Regions from separate parts of the Homo sapiens genome. Here regions 1, 2, 3 and 5 are each linked to region 4. The links are contacts of gene promoters, found by promoter capture Hi-C in human tissues and cell types (Jung and others, 2019). All regions are on one chromosome and are shown on one strand. The core of a region is centred on a gene start or on the middle of the fragment in contact, and the rest is flanking DNA. Distances in the headings are between cores, read along the strand shown.

Region 1 (2,700 bases), core at 30-2,529, 160 kb after region 4:
GAGATCAGGAGATCGAGACCATCCTGGCTAACACGGTGAAACCCCGTCTCTACTAAAAAAATACAAAAAATCAGCCAGGCATGGTGGTGAGCGCCTATAGTCCCAGCTACTCACGAGGCTGAGGCAGGAGAATGGCGTGAACCCTGAAGGCAGAGCTTGCAGTGAGCAGAGATGCGCCACTGCACTCCAGCCTAGGCAACAGAGTGAGACTCCGTCTCAAAAAAAAAAAAAAATCAATTCTACAAAAAGGTCAATAAAATGCATAAACCTCGGCCAGGAGCGGTGACTCATGCCTGTAATCCCAGCACTTTGGGAGGCCAAGCCAGGCAGATCACCTGAGGTCAGGAGTTTGAGACCAGCCTGGCCTACATGGTGAAACCTCATCTCTACTAAAAATACAAAAATTAGCTGGGCGTGGTGGCAGGCGCCTGTAATCCCAGCTACTCGGGAGGCTGAGGTAGGAGAATCGCTTAAACCCGGGAGGCGGAGGTTGCAGCGAGCCAAGATCACGCAACTGCGCTCTAACCTGGGCGACAGAACAAGACTCCATCTCAAAAAATTAAAAAATTAAAAAATTAAAATGCATAAACCTCTTAACTGCTCAAGAACAAAAACACAACAACAATTAACAATACCGACAATAAAAGAGGAAACAAGATTATAAATTCTACAGTCACTAAAAGAATAAATAAGGGAATACTATGAATGATTTTATACCAGTAAGTCTGGCAACTTCTTTTTTTTTTTTTTTGAAATGGCGTCTCTCTCTGTTGCCCAGGCTGGAGTGCAGTGGCGTGATCTCAGCTCACTGCAACCTCTGCCTCCCAGGTTCAAGCGATACTCCTCCCTCAGCCTCCGAAGTAGTTGGGATTATAGGTGCCTGCCACCAGGCCCGGCTAATTTTTGTATTTTTAGTAGAGACGAGGTTTCACCATGTTGGCCAGGCTGGTCTCAAACTCCTGACCTCAGGTGATCCACCCGCCTCGGCCTCCCAAAGTGCTGGGATCACAGGCATGAGCCACTGGGCATGGCCAAGTCTGGCAACTTCTATCATGCATTCTCAACAAGAGTGATACCATCCCCAAGTGGACAAAAATTGGTTCTTGGAGGCAAAAATAAAATAAAATAAAAATCTTTTTATATATAAGATACAGACATACAATCAGTACATAAAACGGAATACAAAGCTTATCTGTGGTATTAAAAATATCATGGGGATGGCAGTGGTTAGAGGGAAAAATAGTCTAAAAAGGCACCTCAGGAGAGTAACAATGAAAAACAGGGCCAGGTACAGTGGCTCATGCCTATAATTGCTCAAGTCCAGGTGGTCGAAGCTGCAGTGAGCCAAGATCACACCAATGCATTCCAGCATAGGTGACAAAGTGAGACCCTGTCTCAAAAAAAAAAAAAAGAAAAGAAAAAAATAAATTTTAAAAAATAGCTGGGTGTAGTGATGCACACCTACAGTCTCAGCTACTCAGGAGGCAGAGGTGGGAAGATCACTTAAGCCCAGCAGTTCGAGACCAGCCTAGGCAACATAGTGAGATCTTGTCTCTACAAATAATAAAAAACTAGCTGGATGTGGTGGTATACACCTGTGGTCCTAGCTACTTGGGAGGCTGAGATGAGAGGATCACTTGAGCCCAGGAGGCAGAGGTTGTAGTGAGCCACTGCATTCCAACCTGGACAACAGAGGGAGACCCTGTCTCAAAAAGAAAGAAAAAAAAATTAGCTGGGTATGGTGATGCATGCCTGTTAGTCCCAGCTATTCAGGAGGCTAAAGCTGGAGGATCACTTGAGCCTAGGAGGTTGAGGCTACAGTGCTGCAGTCACACCACTATATTCCAGCCTGGGCGACAGAGTAGGACCCTGCCTCAAAAAACAGTAGTAATAAACAAATAATAAAATTAAATTTATATAGGAATGCAAAGGACCCAAATTAATCAAAACAATTTTTAAAATAAAGTTGGAAGAATTATACTACCTGATTTTAAGACATTATAAAGCTACATTAATCAAGACAGTGTGGTATGGCATAATGACAAACATAAATAAATGGAAAAGAACAGAAAATTCAGAAATAGACCCATGCATTGATTTTCAACACAAGGAAAGGACAGTCTTTCCAGCAAATGGTACAAGAATGATTGGATATCCATATGGGAAAAAAATGAACCTTAATTCTTACCTTGCACCATATACAAAAACTCAAAATAGATCAGAAATCTAAATGCTAAAGCTAAAACTATAAAATTTCCAGAAGAAAATAGGTGGAAATCTTCATAACCTTAGCGTAGTCAAAGATTTCTTAGGACATAGAAAGAAAAAAAACCATAAAAGAGAAAAAAATGGACCACATCAAAGTTTAAAACTTCTGTTCTAGCCAGGCATGGTGGCTCATGCCTATAATCCCAGCACTTTGGAAGGCTGAGGCGGGTGGATCGCTTGAGGTCAGGAGCTGGAGACTAGCCTGGCAAACATTAGCAGAGTGTAGTGGCATGTGCCTGTAGGCCCATATACTCAGGAGGCTGAGGTGGGAGAATCGTTATGAACCCGGGAGGCAGAGGTTGCAGTGAGCCAAGATCACGCCAGCACACTCAGCCCGGGTGACAGAGCACGATGCTCCGTCTCAAAAAAAAAAATAAAAAGGAATCATAAAAACAGATTTTGCTGCTCTGTAAGTTCAGAATGGGGGCTAAC
Region 2 (2,700 bases), core at 4-2,503, 210 kb after region 4:
GAGATTATATTAGTTAATCTTCACAACAACCATTTGAGGTGGGTATCATCTCCTCATTTTACAGATGGAGAAGCAGCCTCACAAATGTTAAGGAATTTACCTAAGATCACATAACTCATGCATGCAGAATGGAGCAATACATGTCAAGCTAAGTACCACACAGCGTTAACTGCTCAATTCTCAGAGATTTGTGGTTAATCCCCAGCCTGCTTGCCTCAGACATTGTCAGGGTTCAAGATATGACGGCTATCTGTTGCAGCTGGACTCTCTTCCTGATATGGCTCTGGACATACATCCCTCCAGCTCCAAGGGTGGCCCAGCGGGGCATGTAGAGTGGCTGGAATTCCCAAACTGTCACTGCAGTGATGAGGAGGAGCAACCTTATCTGTTTACTCTAACATGCTATACAGATATGCTCATTTTCTATGTGGACTATAATGGAGAAAAGGCTGGAAAGCATTACTTGACTCTAACCCAAAATCCTCTGTAAATCCCAGTCTGTGATCAACAGACTCCCCTCTGCCCTCAATCTGTCCTTAGAAAGTCTCTAAATTAAAACCTGGCATCCCCTGAAGACACTGCTTCCCTGCGTCCCTAAAGATACCATAAAATTAGGCCAGGCATGGTGGCTCACACTTGTAATCCCAGCACTTTGGGAGGCTGAGACAGGCAGATCACTTGAGGTCAAGAGTTCGAGACCAGTTTGGCCAACATGGTGAAACCCTGTCTCTACCTAAAATTAAAAAATTAGCCAGACGTGGTGGCGCACATCTGTAATCCCAGCTACTCAGGCAGCTGAGACAGAATCACTTGAACCCGGGAGGCTGAGGGTGCAGTGAGCCGAGACCACGCTACCACATTCCAGTCTGGGCAACAGAAGAAGACTCCATCTCAAAAAAGAAAAAAAGAGGCAGGACGCGGTGGCTCATGCCCATAATCCCACCACTTTGGGAGGCCAAGGTGGGGGGATCACCTGAGGACAGGAGTTTAAGACCAGCCTGACCAACATGGTGAAACCCCGTCTCTACTAAAAATACAAAATTAGCCAGGCATGGTGGCTGGTGCCTGTAATCCCAGCTACTCAGGAGGTTGAGGCAGGAGAATCGCTTGAACCTGGGAGGCAGAGGTTGCAGTGAGCCGAGATCATGTAATTGCCCTCCAACCTGGATGACAGAGCAAGACTCCATCTCAAAAACAAAACAAAACCAAACAAACAAAATACTATAAAATTATCCAGGCTGGGCACGGTGGCTCATGCCTGTAATTCCAGAACTTTGGGAGGCCGAGGCGGGCGGATCACGAGGTCAAAAGATCGAGACCATCCTGGCCAACATGGTGAAACGCCCCTCTACTAAAAATACAAAAAAATTAGCTGGGTGTGGTGGCACGCACCTCTAGTCCCAGCTACTCAGAAGGCTGAGGCAGGAGAATCGCTTGAACCTGGGAGGCAGAGGTTGCAGTCAGCCGAGGTTGCAGTGAGCCGAGATCTTACCACTGCACTCATGCCACTGCACTCCAGCCTGGCAACAGAGTGAGACTCCGTCTCAAAAAAGAAAATTATCCAGTAGGCCGGGCGCGGCGGCTCATGCCTGTAATCCCAGAACTTTGGGAGGCCGAGGCAGGTGAATCACCTGAGGTCAGGAGTTCAAGACCACCCTGGCCAACATGGTAAAACCCCGTCTCTACTAAAATTACAAAAAATAGCCAGGCATGGTGGCGGGTGCCTCTAGTCCCAGCTACTCAGGAGGCTGAGGCAGGAGAATCACTTGAACCCAGGAGGCAGAGGTTGCAGTGAGCTGAGATTGCGCCATTGCACTCCAGCCTGGGTGACAAGTGTGAACCTCTGTCAAAATAATGAAATGAAATATGAAATGAAATGAAAAATGAAATGAAATAAAGAAGCCTGAGAAGTGGACTAGGATTGCAGCAAAGATGTGCCCCTGGGCCCCTGCTGGGCTTGGTAGTTCCACAGTTCTCCTCAAGAGCACCCCTTCTGTTCTGGACCAATCTCAGATTCTGATTCAAACAACACTTCTTTACATCCTGTTAGTAAAAGCTAATCTGTGGCCACCTCTAATAGTTTGAGATGTGTTCTTAGAGATGAGAAATAAAAAGACTATTAGGAGGTAACTCAGATACCATTCTGATCCCCACATGGTAGATTCATTGTCCCACCCCATCCACACTAGCCCACTAGCCTTGGCTGTCATCTCCCTCTTTTTTATTTTTTTGAGATGGAGTCTTGCTCTTCTTGCCCAGGCTGGAGTACAGTGGCGCAATCTCGGTTCACTGCAACCTCCGTCTCCTGGGTTCAAGCAATTCTCCTGCCTCTGCCTCCTGAGTAGCTGGGATTACAGGCTTCTGCCACCATGCCTAGCTAATTTTTGTATTTTTTAGTAGAGACGAGGTTTCACCATTTGAACTCCTGTCCGCAGGTGATCCGCCCACTTGGCCTCCCAAAGTGCTATGATTACAGGCCTGAGCCACCACGCTGGCCCTTTTTTTTTTTTTTTTGAGACAGGGTCTTGCTGTGTCACCCAGGTGGTAGTGCAGTGGTACAACAGCTCACTGCAGGCTCAAGTGATCCTCTCACCTCAGCCTCCTGAGTAGCTGGGACCAAAGGCACACACCACCACACCCAGCTAATTTTTTTAATTTTGTAGAGATAGGGTCTTGCCATGTTGCCCATGATGGTCTTGA
Region 3 (2,700 bases), core at 115-2,614, 180 kb after region 4:
GCACTCCAGCCTAGTCAACCGACCAAGACCCTGCCTCAAAAAAAAAAAGAAATATACTTTTAACTTCTGTATTTAAATACAGTTAACAGAATATTTATTGCATATGCAATGCAGAGGTAGCTAGTTATTATTTAAGTATACATAAATTCATACTAAAGCAGTAACATCTCACTAGATAACTAGATATGACCTATCCACTATGGTCTAAATGTTTGTGTCCCTCCAAAATTCATATGCTGACATCTAATCCCCAATGTGTTGGTAAGAAATGGGGCCTGGGGCCAGGCGCAGTGGCTCACGTCTGTAATCCCAGCACTTTGGGAGGCCGAGGCAGGCAGATCATGAGGTCAGGAGATCGAGACCATCCTGGCTAACATGGTGAAACCCCGTCTCTACTAAAAATACAAAAAAATTAGCCAGGCGTGGTGGCGGGAGCCTGTAGCCCCAGCTACTCGGGAGGCTGAGGCAGGAGAATGGCGTGAACCCGGGAGGTGGAGCTTGCAGTGAGCCGAGATCGAGCCACTGCACTCCAGCCTGGGCAACAGAGCGAGACTCTGTTACAAAAAAAAAAAACAAAAACAAAGAAAGAAATGGGGACTTAGGGAAGTCATGAAGACACAGCACTCATGAATGGGACTAGTGCCCTTATAAGAGAGGCCTAAGAGAACCTGTTTGCCCCTTTTACCCTTCTGCCATGTGAAGACACAGCAAGAAGGTCCCATCTTTTAAGCACAGTGCAAGCCCTCATCAGGCACCTTGATCTTACATTTACCAGACTTCAGAACTGTGAACAAAAAAAATTGTATTGTTTATAAATTACCCAGTCTAAGATATTCTGTTATAGCAGCAGGAAAAGGTTAAAAACCTATCAAGTTACCATTACACAAATTAAAACACAAATAAGATGACATATTTGTACTTCCTAAAATAAATTAATTTTATATTAATTCGCAAGAAGTGAATTTTCTAAACCCCAAACTGTAACAGAAATGGAAAAAACACATGCAACTTTGTACAAATGTTGCCATATTTCTAATATAAATAGATTTTATATTTATGTTTTTGTTTCTTGAGATAGGGGCTTGTTCTGTTGCCTTGGCTTGAATGCAATGTGTATGATCATAGCTCACTGCAACCTGTAACTCTTAGGTTCAAAGAATCCTCCTGCCCCAGCTTCCCAGGTAGGTAGGACTACAAGAGTACACCACAACACTCAGCTAATTTTTTTTTTTAAAGAGATGGGGGTCTTGCTGTGTTGCCCAGGCTGGTCTTGAACTCCTGGCCTCAAACGATCCTCCTGCCTTGGCCTCCTAAAATGCTAGGATTAGAAGCACAAGCCATCATGACTAATCAAGTCCTCAGTTTTATTTTTTATTTTATTTTTTATTTTTATTTTTATTTTTTTTGAGACAGAGTCTCGCTCTTTCGCCCAGGCCAGACTGCAGTGGCACTATCTCGGCTCACTGCAAGCTCTGCCTCCCAGGTTCACACCATTCTCCTGCTTCAGCCTCCTGAGTAGCTGGGATTACAGGCGCCCGCCACCACGCCCGGCTAATTTTTTTTGCATTTTTAGTAGAGATGGGGTTTCATCGTGTTAGCCAAGATGGTCTCGATCTCCTGACCTCGTGATCCACCTGCCTCAGCCTCCCAAAGTGCTGGGATTACAGACATGAGCCACCAAGCCCGGCCTCAGTTTTAATTCACCTTACTCTACCTTTTTAGATTCAGGTCTGCTACTACCATAATGAAGACTACCCAAAGAGCAAATCTCTTTGGGGAGAAACAGCAAAGACAACTGAGGGGAAAGAATATGAAATCTGGCAAATTGAGAAGACAGATCTGACCAGCCTGGGCAACACAGAAAGACTGCCTCTCGATCACCTGAGGTCGGGAGCTCAAGACCAGCCTGACCAACATGGAGAAATCCCATCTCTACTAAAAATACAAAATTAGCCAGGCATGGTGGCACTATTGCATTCAAGCCTGGGCAACAAGAGTGAAACTCCGTCTCAAAAAAAAAAAAAAAAAAAAGGCCAGGCGCGGTGGCTCACACCTGTAATCTCAGCACTTTGAGAGGCCGAGGCGGGCAGATCACGAGGTCAGGAGATCGAAACCATCCTGGCTAACACGGTGAAACCCCAAGTCTACTAAAAATACAAAAAATTCGCCGGGCGTGGTGGCAGGCAACTGTAGTCCCATCTACTCGGGAGGCTGAGGCAGGAGAATGGCGTGAACCTGGGAGGCAGAGCTTGCAGTGAGCCGAGATTGTGTCACTGCACTCCAGCCTGTGAGACAGAGCGAGACTCCGTTTCAAAAAAAGAAAGACCCCACCTCTACAAAAAAATTTTAAAAATTAGCCAGGTGTGGTGGTGCACACCTATAGTCCCAGCTACTTGAGAGGCTAAAGTGGCATGATCACCTGAGCCTAGGGAGGTGGAGGCTGCATTGAGCCATGATGGCGCCACTGCACTCTAGCCTGGGCAACAGAGTGAGACCTCATCTCAAAAGAAGAGATAGATTAATACTTAGAGAACTGCCAGCCAAGAGTTCTTAACCTGTCAATCCAAAAGCCCTTAAAGAATCTATAGATTGGCTTCAGGGGATTAACTAAAATTGTGTGTAAAATTGGTTTTTTCTGTATCTTCCTTGGAAAAATTTTTATATTTTTTATTGAATTCTCAAAGGAGCGAAAGACCCAAA
Region 4 (2,700 bases), core at 116-2,615:
CCAGCGTCTGTATGGTTGCCTCTGGAGCTTTAGCTGGTGTTTTTTATAGTAGACTTAAGAGGAAAGCAAAACATTTTTCATAACCCTTCTCTATCAAAAGTGGGAAACAAAAGACAGACCGAGAGAGGGCCTCGTGTCTCAAGAAATATAGGAGAGCTCATATCTCTTTGTGGAAGCAAGACCATCCCTTACATCGCCTAGCCTGCAGCGCCAATTTATATTATCGACCGGCCCCGTAGGCGTTTGAGTTTGCGACCCTGCCCTCACCCTGCTCATTCCCCTCCCGACCCAGACTAGGACCCTCTCTTTTTCCGATCACTCCCCCCAGGCACACCGCACGCGGCTGTCATTTCCTTTCTCCTTCAAGGCAGCCCTCTGTTTATTTTAACCCGATTAGGGAATGGGGGTGGGGCACAGGAGACTCCAGCAGCGGTCACTGCTGGAGGCTCCAGGAGACGACGTGACTTGACCAAGGTCACAGAGCTGGAAGGTGAAGTCGCCTGGACCCTACCCCCGGTCTCCCTAGCTGCCAAAGCCCAGCTCGTTCCTTTACACCCACGTCGCGGGCGCCGTGCGCTCTCGGGGCTCAAACACCGCGCGCCCAGTCGGGTGTGCTGCGCCTGAAGGTTGTTTTCCTTCGGCGAACGGCGCCGAGGGGTTAGGGAAACCTTGGGTCATGGTGTGAGGCGCGCCCCTGGAATCCACCAGCCTGCGAGGCTGGGACTGCGGGTGTCCCCGAGTCTGGCCTGCCAGCTCTGGTGGCCAGGGCACCTCTGCGCGCGGGCCAGGGCCCCGGGGCTCTCCCGCAGTCCCCTAACCAAGCCGCGGGCTGGCAGCGTACCGCGGCGCCCGGACGACCCCGGAGCGCGGCCGCGAGGAAAGGGCGGGGGAGAGGACTGCAGCGGAACCTGCCCGGGGCACCCCTGCCCTGGGCGGCTCTCCGCAGGCTGGCGCCGCGCCGGGGTCGCCGCAGCCCCGGGCCCCTCCCGGGCCACCTGTGCGCAGACTGGCGGGCCCGCGAGAGCCCGGATCCGGAGCACCGATCCACTCCGGGTTTCAGACTCCTGCCCCTGTCCCTGGAGACCCCGCGGGGCGGTGGGAGGCCTCCACGCCCACCACCCCAAGCCCCTCCCTGGGGGAGCCTCAGGCATCGCCCAGAGGGATTCCCGGTGCTGGGGGTGGCCCGCGCGCGCTGCGCGGGGCGGCCCGGCCCCTCCTTCCTTCCCCCGCCCCTCCCAGCCGCCGCCCCGCTCCGTCGCTCCAGTCCGGGTTTTGCGGCGCCCACCGGCCCGCTCTCCGGCTGCGGGCTCCGCGGCGCGGCTGGCTCGGTGCGCGGCGCGGCTGGCGCTGCGCTCCGCCCCGGCTGCATTGCTGCGCTCCCGTGCCCAAGGGAGCCACGCGCCGCGTGCGCCCGGCAGCCGGCCGCCCGGAGGCAGCGCAGTCCGCTGGCATGGGCCCCGGGGGCGCCCCGAGCTGGGGCTCCGGGCTGAGGCGCTAAAGCCGCCCTCCCGCCCGCGGGGCCCCGCGCCCGGCCCGCCCGCCTGCCCGCCCGCGGCCATGGCCGTCCGGCCCGGCCTGTGGCCAGCGCTCCTGGGCATAGTCCTCGCCGCTTGGCTCCGCGGCTCGGGTGAGTCACGCCGCGCGCGCTCTGGGGAGGCTTGCGGGGGACCGTGCGCGCGAACGCTCGCTGCTCTGGGGGTCCCTGACCAGCGCTGCCAGACCCGGCTGGGAGCCCCCCGAGGCCAAACTTTGCGAGGCGGGACGCGGGGGGCTCTTCTTGCTGCTGCGCAGCTTCCCCGCGCGCTCTCCCGGAAGCCTGGGTTCTGCCAAGTCCAGGAGCAGCTGTCAGCCCGCGGGGCTGGCGAGTGTAGACACCCCACGCCTCCGGGTGGGGGAAGTTTGCTGGTTGCCTGGGCCCGGAGCAGGGCTGGGGGTTTGGATCAACCCCAGGGAGCCTGACTTTGAGGATTCGAAGATTAGAGGGTTTTGAGCCTATCCCAGTGCCCAGGAAATGGGGGGTGCGGGGAACGTTTAAGATACCTCTTCCCGGTAGCATCTGCCCTAAACAGCCACTCACAATCTCCCAGCTTGGCACCTGGCCTCTGCCCACGTCCAGAACACAGTGTCCTCCTCTGTCCCCGCCACACACGCTCTCACACGCACACACTCAGGCGTGGAGGCGCATACACCAGCCCCCAGTCCTTGCAGCCAGCACAGTCAAAGCGCCGCGGTCCCGGTGGCCGGGGCTGTGGCTCCTGGCCTCCCTGGTGCGGGGGGCCAGAGTTGTGTGTGGTTGGTCCGCCAGTTTCCCCTTCTTCCTTAAACTCCATAGCCTTTCTTGGCCCCTGCATGCCCCATTGGTCACCCTAACCCACTGCTAACTCAGCCCTCAGCCCACCTCATTCCCTTGGGAGGGGCTTGGGGGGAGGAAGTTCCCCTGCATCCTTTGTCTGCTGTCCCTGAGCCTTCACCTAGGCTGAGCTGTGGGGGCCTCCTGATCTCTGCCCCCCATGCACTTAGCTGAGTTGAGCGTATGTGTCTGTGGTGGTGGGGGGTGGGTGCCATTTGTGTGGTCAAGGGGGCTTGAGGCTTACCCTGGCAATTCTCGATTCTTGCTGCCCCTAGAACCTGGGCGGTTACTCCCCAGCCTGGCCAGGCCGCTGCTTATAACAGGGGTGTTGGAAGGGAGCACTGGGGTTT
Region 5 (2,700 bases), core at 68-2,567, 230 kb after region 4:
TCTTTTCTTTTCTTTTCTTTTTTTTTTTTGAGATGGAGTCTTACTCTGTCGCCCAGGCTCAAGTGTAGTGGCACGATCTTGGCTCACTGCAACCTCCACCTCCTGGGTTCAAGTGATTCTTGTGCCTCAGCCTCCCAAGTAGCTGGGATTATAGGCACATAGCACCATGCCTGCCTAATTTTTTTATTTTTGGTGGAGACGGGGGTTTGCCATGTTGGCGAGGCTGGTCTCAAACTCCTGGCCTCAAGCAATCTACCTGCCTTGGCCTTCCCAAGTGTTGGGATTACAGGCTGAGCCACCACGCCCTGCCTCTCCAGTGAATGAATGAAAAGCACCTCATTTTCCATATCAAATCTTTTGCACCCTGGAGAGATAGTTGGTAGTTGGATTAAAGTTGTGTGCAGATATCATGGCAAAAAGGATGTGTAGTCAGGCTGCCATCTCAGAATTTTGACAATTTTTTTTTTTTTTTGAGACAGAGTTTTACTCCTGTTGCCCAGGCTGGAGTGCAATGGCGCAATCTTGGCTGACTGCAGCCTCCGCCTCCCGGGTTCAAGCAGTTCTCCTGTCTCAGCCTCCCGAGTAACTGGAATTACAAGTGCCTTACCATCACACCCGGCTAATTGACTTTTTTTTTTTTTTTTTTTTTTGAGACAGTTTCACTGTGTCGCGCAGGCTGGAGTGCAGTGGCATGATCTCGGCTCACTGCAACCTCCGCCTCCTGGGTTCAATCGATTCTCCTGCCTCAGCCTCCCAAGTAGCTGGGACACAGGCACCTGCCACCATGCCCTGGGGCTAAACTTTTTTGTATTTTTAGTAGAGACAGGGTTTCACTATGTTGGCCAGGCTGGTCTTGAACTCCTGGCCTCGTGATCCGCCCGCCTCTGCCTCCCAAAGTGCTGGTATTACAGGCGTGAGCTACCGCACCCGGCCTAATTGACAATTTTATCCAAGTTTTTTTTTTTTTTCCCTCTGTGGGCCTTAGCTTCCTCCAACCTCATAAACCTCTCAGTTTTTGTGGGCCAGGAATTTGGGAAAGGCTTGGCTGGATAGTTCTGATTCAGGGTCTCTTATGCAGTTGCAGTCAGATGGTGGCTCAAGTTGAAACAGCAGGGAAATGGAGCATCTGGGAGCTAGAGCTGAAACAACAGCGGGGTGGAGCCTCTGGGGGCTGGCCAGACATCTCTCTTTTCATGTGGTGTCAGGAACTCTCCATGTGGTCTTGATGCATGAAATAGTCTGGGGTTTCTCACAGCTTGGTGGCCTCAGAGCAGTCAGACTGCTTACATGGTGGGCAAAGGCTTTAAAAGCAAACATTCCCAATTTGGTTCCCTTTTATAATTTCTACTTTAATGTGTTTATGTTGCTTAGTGGTCAGATTAACTAGGGATTCAACAAGATCTTGTTCTAAACACCTGGAGCCTATAAGCCCTTGATTTTGTATTGTTGGATCTGTGTGTTGGTAGGGAAGCATAATCAAAGTTCAAGTCATTTTGAGATCTACCCTTCCCACGAGGTCCTTTTGCATCTCTTTTGTGTGTGTACGCAGCCTCAGGGTGGCCATGAGTATGTGGCTAACTTGGGCCCTCTCAGGTCTCCGCTGTCACACAGTCTCAGCCAGGAACACACTTGCCCCAACCATGAGCACACCTCCGGCCAGTGAAGCCTTTCACTCTTCCTGCTTACTGCCTTGGAGATCATCATTTCCATCAACAATATTGCTACATGTAAAGGAAATCAAGTGATTTCCTTCCTTCTGTATGGAAGCTATTTGTTTTCATGGCTAGCACCTTCTTGCCAGAGTTTCTACACCGATTGCAGGAAGGGCTGAGAGCAGCCTCACCTGAGCCTGGGAAATTGAGGCTACAGTGAGCTGACATTATGCCACTGCACTCCAGTGTGGGCACTGCAGCCTGGGAAACCCTGAGGTTTTGTTTGTTTGTTTGTTTTTCCCCATCTGGGGAAAAAAAAAAGCCGCTGATTCCTACTGTTCTTACCTGAAGTTCAGCAGTTTTGCAAGCACAAAATTGCTCTCGGATTGTTAAGTCCCTTTGGTTAACTTCCAGAGTGCTGAAGTGGTTGGTTTTGTCAGTTTTGTCCGGTTTTGTCAGTTTTGTCCTGTTTTATTGTTGCTTCTGCAGGAGATCTCCTCACTCTGCCTTGGCCAGAAGTTCCACCCTGTACTCACTTTGTTTTATATTCAACTTCGCTTCCTCTGCCTGACTTCAAAATTGGGAGGGTCCCAAGGCTCAGTCTCTGAACCTCTTTCCTTCTTCATCTACGCTAGGCAATCTCTTCCAGCCCCACAGTGTTCAATATGATTGATATACCAATGATTCCCCATTTATATCTCCAGCTCTGACCTCCCCCTTGAGCTTCAAGTGACTGACAGATCTGAATCTCCAACTCATCTCCACCTATATATCTGATAGACTACTCACACTCACATAACGAAAAGTCTTTAATTTTTCCTCCAAGGCTATCTTCCCCTAGTTCTAATCTATTCACTTGTTCAAGTTCAAAACCTAGGAGTTATCCTTGACTCCTTTCCTTCCTTCACTCCCACCCCCACATCCAGTCTAAGAAATCAGATGTCAAACCTATTGCCGGAACATAATTCCAAATTCATTCACTTTTCTCCATCTCCACTGACAACCTGCCTAGTCCAAGCTTCCATCATCTATTCTCTGAAGACTACAG

Evidence for each region. Contacts are between HindIII fragments. The study calls those that stand out against the background at their distance.
Region 1: a fragment that was not itself captured here is called in contact with the fragment with the promoter of UNC5A in region 4 in 3 of the 25 tissues and cell types used here (lymphoblastoid cells, mesendoderm cells and neural progenitor cells).
Region 2: a contact is called between a fragment that was not itself captured here and the fragment with the promoter of UNC5A in region 4, in 1 of the 25 tissues and cell types used here (dorsolateral prefrontal cortex).
Region 3: a fragment that was not itself captured here is called in contact with the fragment with the promoter of UNC5A in region 4 in 4 of the 25 tissues and cell types used here (IMR-90 fibroblasts, dorsolateral prefrontal cortex, lymphoblastoid cells and 1 more).
Region 5: a fragment that was not itself captured here is called in contact with the fragment with the promoter of UNC5A in region 4 in 2 of the 25 tissues and cell types used here (dorsolateral prefrontal cortex and mesendoderm cells).

Annotation. Positions count from the first base shown.
Region 1 is chr5:176,972,183-176,974,882 of GRCh38, forward strand. All of the region lies in intron 3 of UIMC1 (ubiquitin interaction motif containing 1), which reads right to left. Among named protein-coding and RNA genes, the nearest start is that of UIMC1, 33 kb to the right of the region's middle. The HindIII fragment of the contact is 4,949 bases long and covers 1-2,700 here.
Region 2 is chr5:177,015,174-177,017,873 of GRCh38, forward strand. It overlaps a transcript of UIMC1 not described here. Among named protein-coding and RNA genes, the nearest start is that of ZNF346, 6.2 kb to the right of the region's middle. The HindIII fragment of the contact is 8,034 bases long and covers 1-2,700 here.
Region 3 is chr5:176,989,620-176,992,319 of GRCh38, forward strand. All of the region lies in intron 1 of UIMC1 (ubiquitin interaction motif containing 1), which reads right to left. Among named protein-coding and RNA genes, the nearest start is that of UIMC1, 16 kb to the right of the region's middle. The HindIII fragment of the contact is 7,516 bases long and covers 1-2,700 here.
Region 4 is chr5:176,809,194-176,811,893 of GRCh38, forward strand. It overlaps UNC5A (unc-5 netrin receptor A), which reads left to right and starts at 1,366. Exons shown (of 15, transcript NM_133369.3): 1 at 1,366-1,627. The coding sequence starts at 1,558. The HindIII fragment of the contact is 11,668 bases long and covers 1-2,700 here.
Region 5 is chr5:177,035,006-177,037,705 of GRCh38, forward strand. All of the region lies in intron 1 of ZNF346 (zinc finger protein 346), which reads left to right. Among named protein-coding and RNA genes, the nearest start is that of ZNF346, 14 kb to the left of the region's middle. The HindIII fragment of the contact is 3,200 bases long and covers 1-2,700 here.